Linked DNA regions of Homo sapiens: region 1 is linked to region 2. Evidence: promoter capture Hi-C in human tissues and cell types (Jung and others, 2019). All regions are on one chromosome and are shown on one strand. Each heading gives the region's core, a stretch centred on a gene start or on the middle of the fragment in contact. The rest is flanking DNA. Distances are from core to core; before and after follow the strand shown.

Region 1 (5,736 bases), core at 563-3,062, 130 kb after region 2:
TCAGGGCAGGTATTATTACCCCTATTCTCTAGGTGAGAAATTTGAGGCTGGGAGGAAGGTTGCTTACCCAAAAGCCACCAGCCAAGTGCTGGATCAGACATTTAAACCTAGGCCTGATCCAGACCTGGATCACCCCAAAGCCCATGCACTTTCTTCTGAATCATGTGGCATTTCACATGCCAATAACAACGGCTTATATTAACCTAATGACTGTGCCAGGTCTCCTATTAGGTGCCCTGTGTACCTTACTCCTTTTCATCCTCACAGCGTCTCTTCTAAGGGGAGTATTAGATACAGATTTTATGTAAATCAGTAGATGCTGATTTCACTGCTGAAGAGGCCCCAAGAAGTTCAGCTATTTGTCCAGTCATATAGCCCTGTCATACAGGAAATGGCAGGGCCAGGATTTGAACCTAGACTGATGACTTCAAATTCATTGCACTTAACTGTGCTCCTGTCCTGCCTACTAGTATATGAATGTTGGTTACTGAAAAAAACCTAATGTACTTTTAGGTTGCATTATTAGAAGTATAGCATATATACCAAGGGAGGTGATGGCCACACTATGCCTTGAGCTGGTTGGTGCACATCTAGAGTACTGAGTCTGGTTTTGTTCATTATCTAAGAGGTGGGAAGGTGTGTGGGGACTCTGAGTATTCCCTGAGAATTGTCTTCAGTACTGGGCTGATAGGCAGCTCAGGAGGTAGTGGGTTAAATACAGGGAGGTAGATTTTGGTTTAAAAGAAGGAAATACTCTTTAAAGACAGATTAACTCCACAATGGAACAGGTTGCCTGGAAGTTAGTGAGCACCTGGTAGTGTGCATGTTTAAGTAGAAGGGGACTCCTGAAGGGGCAGAGAGACCAGGATAGCTTGCATCCAGCCCCATTAAGAGCTCTGTTCTGAGGGTCTGCCCAGCCCCAGGAGCTCTGGACTGATTGTCCTGAGGGGGTGGTGTGGGCCCTGTGACAGCTGTGTTCCTGGAGGCTCTGGCTGGACATCTCTGAGCGACCTGATTCCTCTTCTCCCTGCTGTTACTGCCCCTTCCCCTCTCTGTCTCCCACCCTCTGAAGTTCCCAAGGGTCAGTGCCTGGAATCCCAGAGGGGTGAGGGAGCAGGGACTGTTCCCCAGGGTCCAGGTCAGCCCACTGGCTTTCCCCCACTCTGCACCATTTGTCTCTCCTACCTCCCCCCTGCACAGGCCCTCCTGGCCTCTGCCTCTGCCTCTCTGCAGCCCCCCAGCCTCTATGCACCATCACTGTCACAGAGTCAATTCCCTGGAATAATCACATTTTCTGGCCGGCTCCCTCCTCCTCGCCAACACGATTCCAGGAAACCCCAATCAGCCAGGCCCCAGGAGGCTTCTCCAGAGCTTCAGGAGGCTTGGGGGGAAGGGCCCACACCCAGAGCTTTCTGGGGGCCAGACAACACAGTTCCTGGAAGGGGCAGTGAAAGGGTGAAAGAAAAGAGGGAGGTTTAGTGACCATGTCTACATTCAGTTGGAACTGAATTTTGGCCTCTGCTGTCCCTACCAGACCAATCCCCCAAGCTTTGCTGTCATACCTGAGAACCCCAGCCATCCTTAACCCAGTTCCTGAAGAGACAGCACAGATTCTCCCTTGGAGAGGTTCAGGGAGAAGGCCCAAAGGAAGGGATCGGTCCATGGTGCGGCTTACAGTGGCACCAGGCATATTTGGAGAGATTGACTCACGCAGAAAGGCTTCAATAAACAAGGAGAGTCTGGAAGTGAAGAATGCGGCATTAGGAGTTGGACAGACCTTTTTTTCAATCCTGGATCTGCCACATGGCGGCTGTCATAACGCCGCTGAGCTTTATCTGTAAAACGGGAACACTTCCACGGGCTGCCGTAAGGATGAATTGCAGGGGTAATTCATGGAACATGGTGATCACTTTTATTGAAAGTTATAGGACTCCATAAAGCAGAACATAACACAGCCATTAGAAGAATATGGTGTTGGAAACAGTTATTGGCACGGAGAGGTGTTCAGATGCTGGGGATAAGATGGAAGGAGCCCAGGAGTTAAATTTTTGAAAATTTTGAAAAAAGCTACCAGGGTTCTTAGCCTGGAGTCCTTGCCCATGAATGGCTTCATGTAGTTCATGAATGCCGAGAAATTATCTACAGAATTTAGTGAGAATGTTCATTTTTCTGGGGAAAAGGGTCAATGTCATCACATTTTCAAAGTGATGTAGTACATATAAAAGGTAAAAAACAAGTGATGTTTATATAGCATGACTCAATTTTTGCACTAAAAAAAGTAACCAGCTGGGTGTGGTGGCTCACACTTCTAATCGTAGCACTTTGGGAGACTGAGGCAGGAGGATCGCTTGAGCCTAGGAGTTGGAGACCAGATGGGCAACATGGCGAAATACCGTCTCTACCCCAAAAATACAAAAATTAGCTGGGCGCGGTGGTGCATCCCAGCTACTTGGGAGGCTGAGGTGAGGATGGCTTGAGCCTGGGAGGCGGAGGTTGCTGTAAGCTGAGATATCTCCACTGCACTCCAGCCTGGGCCACAGAGCAAGATCCTGTCTCAAAAAAAAAAAAAAAAAAAAAAAAAAAGCCAAACAAACAAAAAACCCAAAAATACAGCCTTTAAAAAGGCCAAAAGATCATACATCCAAATATTAAAAATGCTTTTCTCTGGGTGGTGGGCTTATAGGCGATTGTTTTTTCTTTTTGCTGAACTGAATTTTCTACAAAATACCGTTTTATATTTTGTATAACTTGTATGATTTAAAAAAGAACGATGAGTTTGATTCCCTGTTAAGCCACTTTCAAAAGGGTATCTTGGATAGATCTACTTCTCAGCCTGTGTCCTGACATGGCAATGGTAGCCTCAAAAGGTGATTGTTAAGGTTAGATGAGACAATGTACGCAAAGAGGGTGTCTGTGTGTTTGCTGGGGGGTGGTTGCTCCCTGGCTTTCCAGGATGTTAGGCCTTCGTCAGTGCACTCGACAGACGGTTACTGTTTGTCAACAGAATGCTTGGCGCTGTTCTAGCTGCTAGGGATAAGACGGAAGGAGCCCAGGAGTTAAATTTTTGAAAATTTTAAATTATGAGGAATACAAGTTTACTGTAGAAAATGAGGAAGTACACATATGCATATAGCAAGCACCTGTGAGCATTTGGAAGCATCCACATGGTTTCAGTTTCGGTGCTTCCCCCCACCTATTCCTCTGCTTAAACAGATGTCCTGCAAGAGTCGTTTCTTGACTGTGTTCGCTAATTTATGTCACAAGCATCGTGTGCGCCATTAGCCATCCGGGATTGTAACGGTGCGCGCGTAGGGACCGGACAGCGGGGCGCGCCGGGGCCGCCTCCCGAGAGCCCTGCGTGACACTGCCCCGTGTCTCCCGCGCAGATAGCGAGCTGGTGCTCCCGGACTGTCTGCGGCCGCGCTCCTTCACCGCCCTGCGGCGGCCGTCGCTGCGGCGCGAGGCGGACGACGCGCGCCTCTCGGTGAGCCTATGCGACCTCAACGTGCCGGGCGCGGACGGCGACGAGGCCGCGCCGGCCGCCGGCTGCCCCATCCCGCAGAACTCACTCAACTCGCAGCACAGCCGCGCGCTGCCGGCGCAGCTCGACGGCGACCTGCGTTTCCACGCCCTGCGCGCCGGCGCGCACGTCCGCATCCTCGACGAGCAGACGGTGGCGCGCGTGGAGCACGGGCGCGACGAGCGCGCGCTCGTCTTCACCAGCCGGCCCGTGCGCGTGGCCGAGACCATCTTCGTCAAGGTCACGCGCTCGGGTGGCGCGCGGCCCGGCGCGCTGTCGTTCGGCGTCACCACGTGCGACCCCGGCACGCTGCGGCCGGCCGACCTGCCTTTCAGCCCTGAGGCCCTGGTGGACCGCAAGGAATTCTGGGCCGTGTGCCGCGTGCCCGGGCCCCTGCACAGCGGCGACATCCTGGGCCTGGTGGTCAACGCCGACGGCGAGCTGCACCTCAGCCACAATGGCGCGGCCGCCGGCATGCAGCTGTGCGTGGACGCCTCGCAGCCGCTTTGGATGCTCTTCGGCCTGCACGGGACCATCACGCAGATCCGCATCCTCGGTGAGTGCCCGCAGCTGCGCCTGGGCGTATGCCTTTCCTGGAGGCGGGGACGATCCGGGTAGGAGACAAAGGGCGAGCTCCCCTTCCTCCAGGCTCATGATGGTGTTGCTAAGGAATCACAGACACCTAAGGTGAGTTCTGGGCGGGACTTGGTCATCTTGTCAGTGGCCCTTATATGTCACCTGGGAGACTCACCTGGGGGGTGAGGCGAGGGAAAGCGCGGATTATTGAGTTTGATGCCCAGAATCAGATCAACCCATAGTCTCACAGATACATAAACAGTCCAGAAGCACACAACCCACTGACCACTCAAAAATGAGAGGAAAAGGCCAGGTGCGGTGGCTCACGCCTGTAATCTCAGCATTTTGGGAGGCCGAGGCGGGCGAATCATGAGGTCAGGAGATCAAGACCATCCTGGCTAACACGGTGAAACCCCGTCTCTACTAAAAATACAAACAATTAGCGGGGCATGGTGGTGGGCGCCTGTAGTCCCAGCTACTCGGGAGGCTGAGGCAGGAGAATGGCTGAGCCCAGGAGGCGGAGCTTGCAGTGAGCCAAGATCGTGCCACTGCACTCCAGCCTGGGCGACAGAGTGAGACTCCGTCTCAAAAAAAAAAAAAAAAAAAGGTTTCCCCCAGCAGTTAACTTTTTGAGTCTCGGTTACCATTTCTCCAAAATGGAAATAAAGGTCCTCACCTTTAAGGAAGTTTGTGAGTCCAAATGAGAAAAAAAGGTTGGAATGTCAGTAGTCAGGTGGTGCAGGGTGGTGTCTGGTTGGGGGACTCGGGGGAATCCCTGAGCAGGCAGCCTTGGGGGAAGTGGGGCTGCAGAGTTCTGGGCCTGCCTTTTCTCGGGGGCACAGGGTTTGAAAGGACTGGGGGGATGTGCATTGAGTTAAGAAAAGAAGGGAGGAAGATTCTTTATTGGAAGACTTCTCAGAGCCTTTAATATGCACTTTGATTAAGGAGACGGTGATGGTGGTTTTGGTGTAGAGTTTTTCCATACTAATTTGACCGGAAATCTTTTCACAAAGTGTCTCCTGGTACCTTTGTACCCCAGAGTGAGCAGGTATTCATGCTTTCCAAGTGCCGGTCTTTGAACCAGCTCTGTGAGACTGAGCTGGTTTCGTTAGATTTACCTGGAGGACCTATTAAAGTGCAGATTCTTGGACCCCCCCTCCAGAGATTTTAATTCGGTAGACCTTGGACAGGTTCTGGACATCTGAATTGTTTTTCTTTAGTAAGTATGCTTACCCAAGTTTGGAGACCCCTGGGCCTCACAGCCCCTAGCCTAGACCTCAGCCCAGGAGGCTTGATAGATAAGATAATGTGTGTAGATGAGTGAGCATGAGGTAGTTACTCTATGAGATTGGCGTACTGTGTATAGGCACATGTGAGTAACTGAATACACATATGTTAATGCATGTAATGCTGTTGGCTTGTGAGAGCATGAGAAATCATATAAAAAACATTGGGGACTTCCACCTCTGCAAAGAGACCAAATGAAGATGGAGTGAAACATAAATAAAAAGGAAATGAAAAGCCTGGGTGCGGTGGCTCACATCTGTAATCCCAGCACTTAGAGAGGCCGAGGCAGATGTATTGCTTGAGGCCAGCAGTTCAAGACCAGCCTGGCCAATGTGGCAAATCCCCATTTCTAC
Region 2 (6,352 bases), core at 1-2,500:
CTCTTCCGCAGCCGTGACCCCTCTCCTATCCAGCAGCCTCCCAGCAGCTCCGCTCCACCCCGCCTGCCAGCAACAGGAAGCCCTGGTGAGACCAAAGGCTCAGCGGTGCCACCAGCTCATCCGGAGATTATTCTGCCTTGGTCTGGGCTGTAGCGACGCTGGCAACCTGCCGGGAAGTGGCCATGGCCTCGGGCAACAGCGAAGTTTAGCCCAACTCCCTTCCCAGCCTCCACCCACACAAGCCTGAGAGACAGGCCAGGGTGTGGCCCCATGTCCTCCCCCTCTGGAGGGTGAAAAACAAAACTCCCCAGGCCAGAGGAAGCCAGGGAGTGGAGGGATGGGGTGAGCGCCAAACACAGACCTAGCCCTGTTCCCTTCCATGCTTCATGGAGGGATCACCCCTTCTAGATCACCCCTTCTGTCCCTGCCAAGGAAGGCTGCCAGATGGGCTCAGGCAGAGCCATGTGGCCATGCAGACTCCAAGAAAAGGAGAAGCTGGAGGAGGAGGACCAGGAGGAACAACAGGAGGAGGAGGAGGAGGAGGAGGAGGAGGAGGAGTCTGATTCTTCCCCCACTTCACAGCCTGGAGCTTCCAGCCTAACTTCCTGGGAAAGGCAGTTTGCATCACTGCTGGGGAAGAATGGGTTAAAGTCAGCCCCCTTTGCCCCATCCTTTTCCCTTCTTGGCTTCTAGGCTCCTAATTAGCTCCCTGTGGAGGCCCTGGGTTCATAAACTGGCTCAAAGTGGGGTACAAGATACCTGCACAGGGTGGGTGGTGAGCAGAGGATGGGCCAGGCCATCTTCTGAGACCACTGCCCCCAGGCCAAGGATGGGTCACATCCAGACCCCCAGTGGGACCTCCTCCAACATCAGTGACGACAGGAGACTGGCGGCTCGGGGAGGGGCAGGACTGCTCCCTGTTCAACCGGGTGGAGGGAACCTCAGCTAGGGGCCTCTCTCCCTCTGGGCAGCGTGGGACAGGCCCCACCATGCTCCGCTGACACCTGGCACACCCCAGGGAGGGCCCCTTCCTTACCTGGGGCCAGCTGTGGGCACTTGTGGCCATGGCCTCCTCGGGGCCGGACTCTCCAAGTGGCCTCCAGGAGGGCGGTGCAGGGCAGCGGCGGCCTCCGCCGTTCCCTCCCGCTTTTCTTCTGCACGGGGGCCTGGGGCTGGTGGCGGCTTCAGACTAATCTAACTCCAGAAAAGAGAGAAGAAAACAGTGGGATGGAGTCTGCGCGCCAGTGAGTGGAAAAACAGCCTCCCGGCGCCACCAGGCAGAGGAGGGCGGGCCCCGAGGGCGGCGCGAGAGGAGAGGAGCCGAGAGGAAGTTGAGATGCCTGTTCTGCAGCTGCTGCGCGTCCCACCGACCCGCTGCTCGCCGTCCCTGGGCCGTGCTGGCCCTCCGCCCTCGGCCCAGACCCGGACCGGGCCATGCTCCACACCAATGGGACCAGTCGGGAGGGCCACGTGGGGATGTGGAGGCATTGGGGAGATCTGACCCAGACCTGCCCCCCATGACAGTTTCAAGAGCACCCCACGTACTTGACCCCCGCTGGGCAGAAGCTACCAAAGGAGACCCCGCGAGGGTCAAGGGAGGGTGTCGTCAGGCCCGCGCTGAGCCCTGCAGGATGCTCAGGGCCAGGGCCCCACCCTCTACTGGCCCTTCTCCCTCAGAGTTGTCCATTGACTGGACAAACCATCCCCAATGCTGACTCTTTGACCTATAGTCAGCTAACTCCCCGGGACCTGCTTCGGATCCCTGGAGGGCTGAGGATTGAATTCAGGAGCCTAGGGATTCTCCGGGTCCTGCAGGCAGAGCTCCAACTGGTGGGTGAAAGTTACAAGGAGGCAGGTTTCTGAAGGAAGCCCTGTGTAATAATCAGAGCTGCCCAGCCTGTATCTAAAAGTGGTCAAGATGCGGGCTGAAGCGTCACGGGTCAGGAATGCTGCACAGGAGAGTCTACGGACAGGCTAGATGACCCTTAGCATGGAGGGAGAGGACCCCCGACATCTGTCAGCTCTGCAGTGCTCGTGGTTCCGTCATGGTGGAGCTGCCGAGTGACCCGCTGGCCTCCCTGAGCTGGGCTTGACCATATGTACGAAGGAAAGAAAAGGTACCAAGTTCTGCTTGTTTATTTGTTTGTTTCAGATCCCAGCATGTGCTAAACACAGTCCCAGATCCTTCCCTAAAAGTTATCTTCCTCTATCCTTACCACAATCCTGAAAATCAGGTCTTTTTTAAAAAATAATTTTTTCATTTTAAAAAAATTATAAATCTTCTCTTTATTCTTCTTCTTCTTCTTATTATTATTATTACTTTACAGAGACAGAGTCTTGCTATGTTGCCCAGGCTGGTCTCCAACTCCCAGGCTCAAGTGATCCTCCCTCCTTGGCCTCCCAAGTGCTGGGATTACAGGCATGAGCCACTCCGCCTGGCCAAGCAGGTCTTCTAATATCCATTTTATAGACAGACACACTGAGGCTTAGAGTGGCTGGGTGACTGGCCACAAGTCCTGCAGTGCTGGTATTTGAACTCAGGTGTGCCTGACCCAAAGCTTTGCTCTTCATCACATTTGTACCTCCTGATACCTCCGGGCCTTCTCTTCCCACTGGAAGTGCTGCCACCCACCAACATACACCTTGTTTTTTGCTCATCCTAATCCTCCCTGACTTCAGGGCCCATACCAACTCCTACCTCCTGGAAGAGCCCTCCCAGCCCACCTTGGCCCACAAAGATCTGAGCAACTCCTCCCAAATAATTAAGAGGAGGGAAACTGGACCCCAGAAGTGGGAATAGAGGGAAGGATGGATAAAAAAGGATGGAATCATGCCAAGATCAAAATGAATCCTTAGATGCTTGGGACTTATGTCTCAGAGCTGAGGGCGGTGCTGAGAAACCTATCTGTACCTCTGTTTCCTCCTCAACAAGATGGAAGCTCGAGTGTTTGTGTTGCTGTCTCATCCCTGCCCAGGGGAGGAGGAAGGAAGTCCTTAGGTTCAGAAATCAACAAATACATTAGCCACCCTGTGCTGGGTGCCTACTATGTGCCATGTGCTTTTACACACAGCAACCCCATGATGGCGGGCCGGGGGGGCCTCATCCTCATTGTATAGATGAAGAAACGAAGGCACAGGCAGTGATGCAGCTGGCCCAGGGACAGGGTTTGTGAGTGGTAGAGACACCATTTGACCCAGTTCTGTCTCACTCTGGAATCTGAGCTGCTTTCTCTTTACACTGCTCTCCTCCACCCTCATCCCACCTGGGCTAGAGCCTTGGAGCTCCTCTTAGCCTCTTAGAACTCCATCCCCAAGAGGTGGGGTCTTTGAGAAAAATGGAGAGACTTCAGCTTCTGTGTCTAACTTCTCAAGCCTTGGGGATGGTCTGATTTCCCCTGGAGACCTGGATGTGACGGGGGTATTAAGGTGGTTTTTCAAAGACCCCTCTACAGGAGGACTTTTGTGCTTGGTTTGTGCTAAATAAACATGCAGTCCACCTGGACAATTGTCACATGACCCCCATGGTGACCACACACTCTGACCTCTTCCATGTGAACCTAGCTTCTGACATCTTGTCTCATCGCCTGTCACCCCAGGTGTGTCACACCAGGTAGGCTGTGTGTCATGTCCTTATGGACCTGCCCCGGCACACCCAGTCTCACCTACGACACGCTTGCCCAAATCAGAGGGCTCCCACTTCATGAGACGCCTGATGATTCCCACTCCCCGAGCCCGGAGCATAAAGGAAGAGAGGTACTGAACAGCCACAGACGAGGGTGGACCCTGGGGCAGGGATGTCTGTTGAACCTGGGAGGAGACAGTGAACATCAGCCTGGGAAGGGCTGGGCAGAGGGGAGCCATTGGTCCCTGTACCTGCCATGACAGTTCCGACCCCTTTAGACTAATACTGCTCATGGGCCCACTGCCCTAGGGCCATCCAGGGCAGTGTCACACCTGAAGGCATCAGATCCCCTTCCAGCTCCAAATTTCCTGCCTCCAATGGGCAGGCGAGTGCTAGGGAGTGTGGATCTGCCTAGGGGAGTACTGCCCAGCACTGAAACCCTTCCTTTTTCCACCTGGTTTGGGGGTTGGAGGGGCTGTGGGCTCAGATCCCCGTTCCTGCCTCTTCAGCTGGCCACACCTCACACTTTGCTGAAGTAGGTGGCCACCTCCTTACGCGGAGGCCGGGGCCCACCCCCAGCCCAGCCGTTGCCCATCAGCGGTGGCTCCTCCTGGCCCAGCCGCAGAGGCGGTTTGCATTTGTGCCAGCTCGTGAGCAGCCTGTTCATGGTGCCTTGATCCGTGATGCCACGCAGCTTCTCCCTTTCCTCCTCCGCACCATCGGGGGTCGTGGGGGCAGCTGCGGAAGCAGGGGCCGTGGCCAGTGTCCCGTGGGTGTGACCCAGCTCCAGGTCATGGTTCATGGCCTCGAAGAACTGCTGGATGCAGACCTTGGCAAAGGCTTTGGCGTGCTCCGTGCACGTCTCGTCGAAGAGCTTGCGCTCGATGTCGATATAGTGGGACCAGTACTTGCTCTTGAGGAAGGCGGCCTGCGTGAAGCAGGGCCGCACAGAGCGCACCACGAATGCCAGCAGAGTGGTCAGCAGCACGAAGGACCAGCCCAGCGCCTGTGGGAAGATGAGAGAGAGTCACGGGGCACTGTCCTTGGGCCTCCGAGCCTGTTCAGACTCCCAAAGCACTCTCTATGCCAGTGCCTCTAGGGCAAAGAGCACAAATTGGGCAAGTGAGCTTGCCTCTTGGCCTCCATTTCCTCATCTGTAAAATGGGCATAGAAATTGAAATAATGGAGATAGGTGCACCTCATGGAAAGAAGATCACGTGGGTAAAGCACCCACCGTGCTGGCGGGGCACCCAGGGCCCAGGAGTTAAGTGGGCAGACCCTGGAGTTAGGCTGCTTGGGTTTGAATGCTGTCTCCACTATTTACTAGTTGACCAGGAGCAAAGCACTCAACTTCTCTGTGCCTCAGTTTCCACACCTATAAAGCAGCTGGTGGTAGCACCTATCTCAGAGTGTTGTTGTGAGGACTGAATGTGATAAGCTTAGTGCAGTGCCTGGTACCCAGTGCTCAGTGACTATTAACCATTACTGTTGTGCCAATAGGCCCTCACTTACTTACTGTGCCTCTTCTTTCAGGAAGCCTTCCTTGATCTCCCCAGGCCATAGTGGCCCATTTTCCTCTGAGTCCTGAACCTCTCCTTTGGCTCCTAGTATTGTCACCAGTGCCAAATGAGCACCTCCTCTGTGTCGGTTCTGAGCTGGGCCTTCAGGGGTCATAGAGGCGAATCAGGCAAGAAATCAAACTCTGCGCTGAAGAGCACCCTGCGCTTGGTTCCAGCTCTGCTCTGTCACCTCACTGCAGGGCACGGGGCAGGATGCTCCCCTGGCCCACGCTTCAGGGTTAGGCCCCAGCCGCACAGAGAAGCACTTGGGCAGATCAGGACTGGGGCTGAGGGCAAGCCCAGATGCCTATGGGGCCAGGCAGGTCGTGACAGAGCACACGGGGTGGGGAGCCACTGAGCATGTGCATAGGCTGGGGGCACCCCAGCCTGTTCCAGGAGTACACGCGGGCCTGGTGGGGCTGGATTTTCTGGATTTCCAACTTGAAAATCTGATTTTTATGTGAAAAATTCCGATTTTTATTTTAATCTTATTTACTTTTTTGTTTTGAGACAGGTCTTACTCCGTTACCCAAGCCAGAGTGCAGTGGCACAATTACATTTCACTGCAGCCTTGACCTCCCAGGCTCAAGCAATCCTCTCACTTCAGCTTCCTGTGTAGCTGGGACTACAGGCATGTGCCACCAAGCCTGGCTAATTTTTTTCTTTTCTTTTCTTTTTTGGAGACAGGGTCTCACTATATTCCCTAGGCTGGTCTTGAACTCCTGGGCTCTAGCAATCTTCTTGCCTTGGCCTCCCAAAGTGCTGGGATTACAGACATGAGGCACATCGTACCCGGCCCATTCTGGTTTTTAGAAGATGCCAACAAATTCTAAAGTTGAATCTAGAATTCAGTCTCTGAAGGCCAAATGAAACATGTATAGGCCAGGCAGCCTGTGGCCTCTGGGGCCCTCTCAGCTTATGATGTGGTGGCTTAAAGGTCAGGTGGAATGACAGCTGCCAAGGCCCTGAGGCCGGGGACGATGGGATGAGTGCCCACAGGAGAGGAGGCACAGGTTAGGGAGGAGAGGGAAGTAGAGTTCAGTCGGGATGCTTAGAGCATGACATTCACCAAGGTCATCTGGGTGGTGACAGAGGCCTCCCAGGAGAGAGGCCCCTGCTAGAGTGGGAAGCCAGGGGTGTCTGGACTTGCCAGGGCAGAGTGTGCACGTTT

Evidence for each region. The method cuts DNA at HindIII sites, captures the fragments that hold promoters and counts their contacts. A contact is called where the count stands out against the background at its distance.
Region 1: a contact is called between a fragment that was not itself captured here and the fragment with the promoter of CALHM2 in region 2, in 2 of the 25 tissues and cell types used here (aorta and liver).

The regions. Positions count from the first base shown.
Region 1 is chr10:103,581,150-103,586,885 of GRCh38, forward strand. It overlaps NEURL1 (neuralized E3 ubiquitin protein ligase 1), which reads left to right. Exons shown (of 6, transcript NM_004210.5): 4 at 3,387-4,076. LOC124902496 (a long non-coding RNA gene) reads right to left here and starts at 2,594. Exons shown (of 3, transcript XR_007062277.1): 1 at 1,563-2,594; 2 at 1,290-1,435. RefSeq lists a silencer at 3,265-3,324. The HindIII fragment of the contact is 5,943 bases long and covers 1-4,784 here.
Region 2 is chr10:103,451,120-103,457,471 of GRCh38, forward strand. CALHM2 (calcium homeostasis modulator family member 2) reads right to left here and starts at 1,251. Exons shown (of 4, transcript NM_015916.5): 1 at 1,037-1,251; 2 at 1-166. CALHM1 (calcium homeostasis modulator 1) reads right to left here. Exons shown (of 2, transcript NM_001001412.4): 2 at 2,121-4,628. The coding sequence ends at 4,143. LOC124902494 (a long non-coding RNA gene) reads left to right here and starts at 1,324. Exons shown (of 2, transcript XR_007062275.1): 1 at 1,324-2,117. RefSeq lists enhancers at 1-293, 242-862, 863-1,484 and a silencer at 1,323-1,652. The HindIII fragment of the contact is 12,335 bases long and covers 1-3,809 here.